3 separate regions of the Homo sapiens genome follow, and regions 1 and 2 are each linked to region 3. The links are contacts of gene promoters, found by promoter capture Hi-C in human tissues and cell types (Jung and others, 2019). All regions are on one chromosome and are shown on one strand. Each heading gives the region's core, a stretch centred on a gene start or on the middle of the fragment in contact. The rest is flanking DNA. Distances are from core to core; before and after follow the strand shown. Region 1 has its middle 34 kb from the start of ARAF. Region 2 overlaps LOC124905183 (a long non-coding RNA gene). Region 3 holds the start of UXT (ubiquitously expressed prefoldin like chaperone).

What was found. The method cuts DNA at HindIII sites, captures the fragments that hold promoters and counts their contacts. A contact is called where the count stands out against the background at its distance.
Region 1: a fragment that was not itself captured here is called in contact with the fragment with the promoter of UXT in region 3 in 1 of the 25 tissues and cell types used here (liver).
Region 2: a fragment that was not itself captured here is called in contact with the fragment with the promoter of UXT in region 3 in 1 of the 25 tissues and cell types used here (thymus).

Annotation. Positions count from the first base shown.
Region 1 is chrX:47,525,666-47,529,323 of GRCh38, forward strand. No RefSeq gene overlaps it. Among named protein-coding and RNA genes, the nearest start is that of ARAF, 34 kb to the right of the region's middle. The HindIII fragment of the contact is 7,227 bases long and covers 1-3,658 here.
Region 2 is chrX:47,499,288-47,502,721 of GRCh38, forward strand. The region is part of intron 1 of LOC124905183 (a long non-coding RNA gene); the gene reads right to left. Among named protein-coding and RNA genes, the nearest start is that of ZNF41, 18 kb to the left of the region's middle. The HindIII fragment of the contact is 4,884 bases long and covers 1-3,434 here.
Region 3 is chrX:47,656,920-47,660,535 of GRCh38, forward strand. UXT (ubiquitously expressed prefoldin like chaperone) reads right to left here and starts at 2,261. Exons shown (of 7, transcript NM_004182.4): 1 at 2,196-2,261; 2 at 1,911-2,017; 3 at 863-944; 4 at 653-720; 5 at 264-371. The coding sequence starts at 2,008. It overlaps UXT-AS1 (UXT antisense RNA 1), which reads left to right and starts at 1,914. Exons shown (of 2, transcript NR_028119.1): 1 at 1,914-2,261; 2 at 2,976-3,192. RefSeq lists enhancers at 1,605-2,108, 2,093-2,352, 2,109-2,610 and silencers at 1,833-1,912, 2,191-2,530. The HindIII fragment of the contact is 10,601 bases long and covers 1-3,616 here.

The DNA.
Region 1 (3,658 bases), core at 256-2,755, 130 kb before region 3:
CTTTGGGAGGCTGAGGCGGGCAGATCACTTGAGTTCAGGAGTTCGAGACCAGCCTGGTCAACATGGTGAAACCCTGTGTCCACTAAAAATACAAAATTAGCCGGGTGTGGTGGTGGGCACCTGTAATCCCAGCTACTAGGGAGACTGAGGCAGGAGAATTGCTTGAACCAAGGAGGCGGAGGTTGCAGTGAGCTGAGATCTTGCCACTGCACTCCAGCCTGGGTGACAGACTGATACTCTGTCTCAAAAAAAAAAAAAAAAAAAAAAAAAAAAGAAAGAAAAAGAGAAAAAAGAATTAAGCTGTGGGAGGTGAGAAGGGATTTGCCAAGTAGACAAAGAAGGCTGCCTGGGAGCAGGGGAGGTGGGTGGGGGGCAGTAGCTGGATCACAGAGGACAACAGGAGGAGCGGAGGAAATGTTTGGTCAGACTGGTGTTTGGGAAGGTTGGCCACTGGCAGTGTGTATGCAAGGGGGGACCTCAGGGAGCGAAGGTGGGTTAAGGGGGAGCTCAGACTGGTGTGGAGCCCTAACATGGACATCTATGATCTTTCTGCCTTTAGAGGGCTAGTTTTCACCAAGTTTCCACCCGCACTGCAACCCAATGACAATGTTTAAATATTCTGGGTGAGTCATTTGCTAGGATTTCTGCAAAAGTATTTGATTCGATCCATTTATGAATCAAGTTGATCCTTCCTTCCTTCTTTCCCTCCCTCCCTCTCTCCCCCCCCCTTCCTTCCTCTTCCTTCCTTCCTTCCTTCCTTCCTTCTTCTGTCTTCATTTGTTGCTCAGGCTGGAGTGCAGTGATACAATCAGAGCTCACCGCAGCCTGGATCTCCTGGACTCAAGCAATCCTCCTAGCTCAGCCTCCTGAATAGCTAGGATTACAGGTGTGCGCCACCATGCCCAGCTAATTTTTTTATCTTTTGTAGAGATGGGATCTTGCTATGCTGCCCAGGATGGTCTTTTTTTTGAGACAGAGTCTTGCTCTGTTGCCCAGGCTGGAGTGCAGTGGCACAACCATGGTTCACGGCAGCCTGAACTTCCTAGGCTTAAGTGATCCTCCCATCTCAGCCTCTTGAGTAGCTGAGACTACAGGCATTCACCACCATGCCTGACTAATTTTTTATTTTTTGTAAAATAAAAAGGTAGATGGGGTCTCGCCATGTTGCCCAGGCTAGTCTCGAACTCCCAGGCTCAAGCAATCCTCCTGCCTCAGCCTCCCAAAGTGTTGGGATTGCAGGCATGAGCCAGCATGCTTGGCCACCAGACTGGTCTTGAACTCCTGACTTCAAGTGGTCCTCCTGCCTCGGGATTGCAGATGTGAGCCCCTGTGCCAGGCTAAGTTGGTGTTCTTTCTTTATGGATTGTTATACCCCCAGGAGAGGCTGATAGCTACCCAGAGTTCTGCCTGTCAGTTTCGAGGTCTCATCTCAGTGACCCACAATCTCTCCAGCTCCCCAGCACTGCTGAGTGGAAAGAGTCTTCCTGTCTTTTCCCCTGCCCCGGGCCCAGGCAGCATCCAGGTAACTGTGGGGCTGAGGCTGGAGCAGGCCAGGCCCATGAAGCAGGTTGGCACCTCGAGAGTTTCTGCTTTTCCTCAGAATCTGAGGTACTTCTTGGTAATGAGGTAGAGCCCAACCTCCTTAAAAGTGACATGCTTGCCAGTGCAGTTTGCTACCATTTGTGTGTTTGAATACAGTTAAAAATTCTGTAACTTTGTCTATAAAGACAAATAGACAAAACCAAGATCTGGAAGCAAAGAAAACAGTTAGGAAATGAAAATTATAATCCAGGTGAGAGGGGATGAAGACTTGAATCAAGGCAGGAGGCGTGGGAGGCAGATGCCATATACTCTTTTGCAAGCTTCTTGTGAACATCGAATTCGATAAGCTGCAGAAAAGCAGCTGGCATGGTGCCTAGCATACAGTAGGCATCAAATAAGTGCTGGGTTGCCACCCACCCCCTCCTTGAGGCAAGTTCTGTCAGAAAGCAGGCCCAGGGGTGTTCTCTGCAGAGAGAAGCCAGGATGAAGGCCTTGTTCCAGCTCCTCGGAGACCTGTGGGTCTGACCCCACATGCCTGGCAGAAGTGCCTCCATTTTAACTGCCTTGGGCCTTCTTGACCACAGTGTGAGCGACCACAGCCCCGTCACAGGCTGGTACTTGGGGCCTCTCCCCTCCTCTCACTTGTGGAGAGTAGGCCCAAAGTTGGGCCTATGTGGCCACATAAGCACTCCATCCTTGTCTTCTCTCCTTGGTTCTTCCCTACTCACCACCACCCCAACCAACAAGAAAGGAAGAGAAAGGTCCCACCCCACATATATTGCCTGTCCCAGTGTTTGATAGGGAAGGAGGTGGTAACACTCGGTGTGACCCCCACGGAAAGACAGTCCCCTCACACCCTGAGTTGGTGCCACACCATCAGCTCTGCAGCGGGCACTTTCAGCTCCTGCTGCTCCTTTGCCACCAGGTCTGGGGTTTCACTGTTCTGGGGCTCAGTCCCATGCCTGTCTTGTGAGGCTCTGGAATCACAGGAAAGAAACAGCGGGCTTCTCTGTGCTGGAGGTCCCCATGTCACAGTGGCCCAGGGCCAGGCCACGACATGAACACTCATGCTGCAGCTAAGAGTAAAGGCTCATCATTTCATCTGGAAACATTGACCTGTTTCTCCATTTTTCCCTTTAACTATCTGGCCACAGCAGGATTCCTGGGCATAAGGGCATAACCCTCCTTGAGGTTTTGCTTTCCAAGTGAGTTGTTTTATTCTAAAAATCCTACATTATACTCCATTTTAGCATTGAGTATCATTATTTCCTTTCTTTTTATTGAGACAGGGTCTCAGCCTGTCACACAGGCTAGAGCACAGTGGCACAATCTTGGCTCACTGCAGCCTCAGCCTCCCCCAGCTCAAGTGGTCCTCCTACCTCAGCCTCCTGAGTAGCTGGGAATACAAGCGCCACCATGCCTGGCTAATTTTTTGTTTTTTGTTTGTTTGTTTGTTGGTTTTTGGTAGAGACGGGGCTTCGCCATATTGCTCAGGCTGGTCTCAAACTCCTGGGCTCAAGCGATCCTCCCACCTCGGCCTCCCAAAGTATTGGGATTATAGGCATGAGCCACCACACCTGGCCAAGTATCATTATTTCTAAAAGAGACTAGCACTGAGGCCAGATTCAGTGGCTCATACCTGTAATCCCATCACTCTGAGAGGCTGAGGTGGGAGGATTGCTTGAGCCCAGGCATTCAAGACCGGCCTGGGCAACATAGGGAGACTTCATATCTAGAAAAAAAATTATATATATAAACTTAGCTGGGCACGATGGTGCATGCCTATGGGCCCAGCTACTCGGGAGGCTGAGGGCTGAGGTGGGAGGATCGCTTTAGCCCAGGAGTTTGAGGCTTCAGTGAACTATGATTGTACCACTGCACTCCAGCCTGGGCTACAGAGCAACCTGTCTCTACTACAAATAAATTTTTAAAAAGTTGCATTGAAGGAATAAGGATGAACCAATTGAAGGAAACACAGAGGAATTTTACAAACAGAGAGACCAGCAGGAATCAAGACCCAGGGACATAAACCAGCACCAGGTGGTGAAGAGACCATAAGCAGATCAGTGAAAAGGCTGAAATGGGAGGGGGCTTGAAAGATGGGACAGTTAGGACG
Region 2 (3,434 bases), core at 244-2,743, 160 kb before region 3:
CTCAAGGTTTGCCCTTGGCTGGTGTCTGGGAACTTGGATTTCTGGAGGGTTCCCACTTTTCCCTAACTGATAAGGGTGTCTCACTGTGTCTACGTTGTGCTGACAATCTGGTTTATGCTGGCCATCTGCCTCTCTTCTAGGAGTCTGGAATATTAGTGCGTGCTAGGCAGAGGGCACCTAGTGCCTAACTCCCAATAAAAACCTTTGACACTGAGTCTCTAATGGGCTTTTCTGGGCAGAAACATGACACGCTTGTTGCTGCATTTTTGATGCTGGGGGAGGGTGCACTATGTGGGAGCCTTCCTGGGAGGGAAGAAGAGGGAAGATGGATGAGTAAATCATGCCTGGGTCACTATGGAGTTACCTATGGTGTAAAACAGCAGCTGACCTGCTTGCTATCTCTTATGAGAGGTAGAAGTTACCCGTGGCATTTGAAAATGATAAATCCAGTCATAGACAGTTGGCTTGCTGGATCTCCTGGCTGCTTTTGGCCATGCTGGCTAAAGATAGGAAGAAGTGCAGCTCAAAGGATGACTTTGGTTTTTGTTCTCTCCTCCAATTGGGAGGAAAAAGGGCCCAGACATTCCCCCCAGTGAGCTTCCTATGCACTAAAGACAGGCCAGGTGCAGTGGCTCACGCCTGTAATCCCAGCACTTTGGGAGGCCAAGGTGGGCAGATTGCTTGAGGTCACAAGTTTGAGAACAGCCTGGCCACCATGGTGAAATCCTGTCTCTACTAAAAATACAAAAATTAGCCGGGTGTGGTGGCATGCACCTGCAGTCTCAGCTACTCAGGAGGCTGAGGCAGGATAATGGCTTGAACCGAGGAGGTGGAGGTTGCAGTGAGCTGAGATCATGCCACTGCACTCCAGCCTGGGCGACAGAGCGAGATTCTGTCTCAACAAAACAAAACAAAACAAAACAAAACAAAACAAAACAAAACCAACGAAAAGACAATAACAGTTAATTGGAGTTGCTCTCTCTCCTAGGTGGGAGGGGGAAGGGTCAGAAAATTTCTGAAGGCAGGTTTTGGGTGAATCAAGAACGTTCAAAGTTTGCATTGCTCGCTCCTCCAAGTGGAAGAAAAATAGTTAAATCAGTTCCCAGGGCTGGAGCAAGGCTTTAGATAAACCAGAGGTGGAGAAAGAGTAAAAAACATTCCCCCCAAACAAGAAAACCACTCTAGCCTTTTCTACAGCTTAGTAGCTGCCTCTGCAACTCAAAGCCCTCCTTACACTGCAACCTTCATCTCCAGCAGCTGTAATGTTAACCTTGTAAATGCGGTGTGGAAACTAAAGCAACTCCATCTTGGATGCTAATCCACGATGTTGACTTCAGATTAACTCCAGTGCCAGGAAGGCCTCTCAGATTTCCAGTCTAGCTATCTTTCCTTGTGTAAGAGCACATACTTACCACAAATCCTGCCCTTAGGTCTAAATAACCTCAATGTGATCGTTCTTCAATTCTACACATCACTTCTGAATCACCCCTTCCCTATGGTATATAAGCCCTGAGTCTGGGGTTGATGGCACAGGGATCCACTTTCTCCTCTTACCGCTACCTGAGACGCAGACATGGCTTCTGTTTGCAAGTCCCTATTAAATGTTTCCTTCTAAGAAATTGGATATGTCAGCCTCTTTCTTTGGCCTCTCAGCTTCCTGGGACTTTGGGGGTAGTTTTGTATAGACCTGCTCACTGTGGAACATGCTGATTTTACAGCTAGGGGTTTGGGGAAAACAGAGGGGAATGTTTATTCAAAGGCTTTGTATTTTGTGGCTGTCGCATCTGGGTGTATGATAAAATTTAATGTAAAATGTTATCTGCTTTATTTCATCAACATTAGACAAATCATCCTAATAGGGAAAGCTGCAAAGAAAAAAAAACAGTGTTTGTGGAATCAGAGCTCCCTTGCTTTTTGCTGCCTGTGGGTGGATTGCAATTTAAACTCTTTGAGGATTGGAAACAGAACAAGTCTCCATAACCACTGATTTTTGCCCATTGGAGCCTCTGGAAAAAGGGAGAGAACATAAAAAGAGAGGCAATCTCCGGGTAGAAACATGCTTTGGGAGTTTTCAAAAACAGCTTTTAGTTTGCTAATGTGCTCTTGCTGCCATGAACTGCCTGACCCATAGAGGCTAATGGTTTTCAGCCTGCTGTGCATATGTTTGAGTAGGTCTATTTGGCCTCTAAAATGAACAAGATAAAAAGGACTTTTAGAAAAGTCTTGTTTGTCACTTGGGCTTGGTATACAGCTGTCTGGCTCTTCCTTGTATCAGCTTTGCTGCTACTGAAGGAAAGCCAGGGGCTTTTTAAAAATCCCAGATTCACAGATCCTAATTGCCTGTGCCTGCCTCTGAGCTGAAACTTGATGCTGTCTTCTGCAGCTGTTTCGGCCTTGCGGTGAGCTGTGCGGAACTGAAGGCTCATCTCAAAGAACAGGACTCAGATTCTGAATTGTTGCCCATTTAAGACAGCCTCTGTGGGGCTATAAATGACGAAAATACAGATGCTGACCGGATTGTCTGGGTCACATAAAAATGCCAACAGGAAAGGGTGTGGTCTCATGAAACCATCTAAAATTGGGTGGCTGAATGGCTCTAGATTTCTGATACAGAGACTAATTGCATTCTTAACTTGTGATTTCTCTTGAAAGCTTCAGGTTGGGGACGGACACATAACAGAGAATGTGACCCCTTCACCTACTTCACACAGATTGGACTGGTGCCCCTCTTTGAGATGTCTCATTGCTGTTGACTTGTTGCATCATTCAGCTTTCAGGATTAGATGCAGTTTGTGCCAATGGACTGATAGCCTGACTCTATTTCCCTCACCTTTCTTTTCTTTCTTTCTTTCTTTCTTTCTTTCTTTCTTTCTTTCTTTCTTTCTTTTTTTCTTTTTTTTTTTTTTTTTTAGACAGGGTCTCACTCTGTCACCCAGGATGGAGTGCAGTGGCACGATCATGGCTCACTGCAGCCTTGATCTCCCGGGCTCAGGTGATCCTCCTACCTCAGCCTCCCAAGTAGCTGGGACTACAGGCTCCTGCCACCCAGATAATTTTTTTTTTAAGAGATGGGGTTTCGCCATGTTTCCCAGGCTGGTCTCGAACTCCTGAGCTCAAGCAGTCCGCCCACCTTGGCCTCCCAAAGTGCTGGAATTACAGGCGTGAGCCACTGAGCCCAGCCTACTACCCTCACCTTTCTCCTAGTGCACACATCTTAGTGAAACAGTTTGATTATTCAGTGCAGCTGTCCCCAGCAAGAGATTGATTTTTTTTTCCCTAGGCTGCTCACTGGGTAAATGATGAGGAGGAAAGGAATGGGAAGTTAATGGAAACCCATTTTGAAAAAATTGGAAAGTTCCGGATTCTTCCTGACCTATTTCTGGACATGATATGTCTTTCTGGTTAAATTGCATAAAAATATTTTCCTGGAAAAA
Region 3 (3,616 bases), core at 1,011-3,510:
TGCTGCATTCCCACTGCTAAGCACAGTGCCTGGCATACAGAAGATGCCCAATAAATGTTTGCGTGAATGAACAATACAAAGATCATTTTTTGAGTGCTTATTATGTGCTACACATGGGCTTTGCAACCCCATTTCTTCAGCCCCAGCTCTGAAGAGGAGGGGAGATGAGTCCTTAAGTATCATTCCAGGCAGCCATGGGTAAAGGGAGAAGAGTGTTGGAAATGGTGGTGTTTTTACACACTATCCTCATGGAATGGACTTACTCTGTGAGGAGAGAGCTCTTACGATCAATGAACTTGAGAGCTTCTGCCAGTGTCAACTCCAGGAAAAAACCATATCCCAGGGCCACATAGATGCGTGAAGTATCTGGGCTGAGGAAAGAGAGGTTAGAGGAAGTGGGGAGAAGTCCTTATCACTGTTTAGCATAGTTTATGTTTTGCTCCCCACCCTTCCCCAAATTGAGGCTCTGGGAAGGCAGGGATTTTGTCCTATTTTATTCACTGTCACATCCCCAGCACCTAGCTTATATCCTACTGGGATATAAAACCTCGCATAGTGCCTGGTACATAGAAGATACTCAAAAAAATATAAGTTGCATGAGGGAAGGGGTAAGCTGAACCCTGTGGGCTCAGAGGGGCGGGTAGACACTCACACCACTGTGTCAACGAAGAAGTTACAGCCCAAATCCACCTGCATATATAACTCCGAGTGCTTAGCTTCCTGTGGGGCCAGGGAAAAAGAGGTAGGGGTCAGTGGTGAACTCTTAGGTCAGGTGACAGGGTTGGGTCTGGAGTCTCTCTTCCCATTTCCCTCCCTTGCCCACACATACCAAAAAAATGGTACCCAATCCCATAGTCTTTACCTGGAGTCGCTCAATGACATTTCTCAGTTGAAGGTATTTGGCCAGCTGCTCATATACCTTGTCTCGATGGTCCAGCACCTTTCTGATGGGACGAAAGTACAATGGTGACCAATAGGCAGCCCCATTCCTCCTAGTATACCTCATATCATGACCCTCTGAGACTCTCATGTCACCATACACTGAAAAGGCTTTTTAGTGCATAAGTTAATTTTCGGCTCTGGGTCAGACTGCCTGGGTTTGGATCTGGGCTCTATCCTTTATAGATGTGTGACTTTGGCAAGTAAATAACCTGTTTGGGACTCAGTTTCCCCATTTATAAAATACAGATGACAGTATTACCTTGTAGAGTCATTAGGATTAAATGAGCGTTTACTACAAAGCATCTAGAATAATGCTTATCAAATGGTAAACTCTCTATATACATGTTAGTTATAATTACTATTATTATACTCCCAATACTGAACTCCAATCATAATGTCCCATCCTCACCCTAGAAAAATCCTCCATCCCTTTTAGGATGCTCATAGGCCTAGTTCTGAACACCTTATTTCCTGCTTAGATTAACAAAGATTGCAATAATATTTCTTCATACTCATTGAACCTCTACTATGTTTCAGGCATCCATGCTAAATTCTTGACAAAGATGGGACACATCAAAAACTCAAAACCACTGCATGGGGAAGGTTCCAGAAAACTCCCCATTTCACAGAAGAGTAAAGTTTATAGGGCACAGAAAGGCGAGGTAGGACGTATTCACAAGGATGAAGAATGGCCGAGCCAGGATTCGAACCCGAGAACTGTGGCTCCAGAAAACAAGCCTTAATCTGTTAAACATCGGAGGCCGCGCATGCGCTGACACGCCCCTGCTATGAACGCCACGTCCCAGCCAAACTGCACCCCGGATGTCGTCCCCACTTCTCGCTCCAAGGAGCGCGGGGCCGGACTCTGAACGCCTCGCCCGCCAATTCAAAGGGTTGGCCCTAACTTTGAACGCCCCACCCACCACGTGGAATGTTCCAAACGCCCCGCCCCCCGCACTGTCACTCACCGCAAGTCCCGCTGCAGCACGTCACTGATGAAGGTCTCGTAGCGCAGCACTTTCTCCCCCGTGGCCTCCACCGCCCGCCGCTTAGGGGGCGTCGCCATGATGGGCTCCTGGGGAGTGGGGAGGGGGAAGACCATGTTGACCGATCCAGTTTGGCCTCACACACAGTTCATCTCTACCCTCTCAACGCTGGGAATCGGCTTGTCCGGCTCAAGCTGGAGGTTCAGCCTTCCGCCCCTCCCAACTCGGGGACCCGACCACCCAGGGACACCCAAGCGCGGCCTTTACCTCAGGCCGCCAGCAATAAGAACGGTTGGTAGGAACCGCGGCTTCCGGGTGGCGCGGGTGAATGACGTAAGTGGCAAGCGCGCTGGCCAACCAAATAGCCAGTTGGGGAGGGGCGGGCCTGAGTGGAAGAAGACGGGCCAAAGGGGAGAAGAGAAGGGCAGGGCTTCACGGAATCCGAGGAGATCAAAGAAGACTAGGGCGTGCGAGCAGGGGCCGTCTGGCAATAAACCGGCCAATGGGGGACTGCAAAAGCGGCGCCTGGAGCCTATGGAGACCGTGTGTGGCTGGTGGGGGTGGGATTTAATGGGATTTGGCGGGTTCTAAGGTAGGCGCGACGCACAGGTGGAGGTAGAGGAAGTGAAGAGTTTAATATTTAAAAGGACCTAAAAATTGACTATGGTTCTGGTCTATAAGGAAGATCCCGTGTGATCTGTCGGCCTGGATATTGATTTTTCACACGGGAGGTTTGGATTTCACTCCTGGCAATGGGACTGAGTATAAGCATTTAAAAGGTTTTAAACAGAGACAGGTTTTCTAAAATTCATCTTTGATAACTCCAGCTCTGCACTCGCAACCCATAAGTGAGGCTCAAGTGGAAATTGACAACACTCTCTGTCTAATCACCTCGTTTGATAGTCAAATGGAGAGGGTGGCTGAAGTCCTCTGCCGAAGATTGGCCATCTTGTAGTTAGGCATAGTTCCCATGTTTTTATTTAAATGGTAAGGTTTTTGTGAATTTATTCTTATGCACTAGAGTGACTGAGTGAATTTATTTTTCAGGTTAGATTTTCAAACAAGAACTTATAACCCAGCAAGAATGGGCCTTTGCCTGGAGAAGAATCCAGACCATGGGATGAATCCCCAAATGCTATTTCCATCTGTAGAGCCTAGAGCACCCACCCCTACCAAGGAAGTCTTCCCAGATAATTTGTGTTTCATATGTAAAAGCAAGTTTTTTTTTTCAAATGCTCAAAACCCAAGCAAGTTAAGCCCTTCCTTCCTTCCTTCCTTCCTTTCTTTTCTCTCTCTCTCTCTTTCTTTCTCTCTCTCTCTCTTTCTTTCTTTTTTTTCTTTTTTAGACAGGGTCTGTGTCCCCTAGGCTGGAGTGCAGTGGTATGATCATGACTCATTGCAGCCTCAACCTCCCAGGCTCAAGTGATCCTCCCGCTTCAGCCTCTGGAGTACCTGGGACTACTGGCATACACCACCACGCCCATCTAATTTTTAAAAAAGTTTTTGTAGAGACAGAGTCTCACTATGTTGCCCAGGCTGGTCTCAAACTCCTAGGCTTAAGTGATTTGCCCACCTCGGCCTCCCAAAATGCCGAGATTATAGGCATGAGCCAGCACACCTGGCCAAGTTAAGCTTTTCTTTGCCCTTAGAACGAGATAATTGTAAAATGAAAACATTGAGATTAGTTT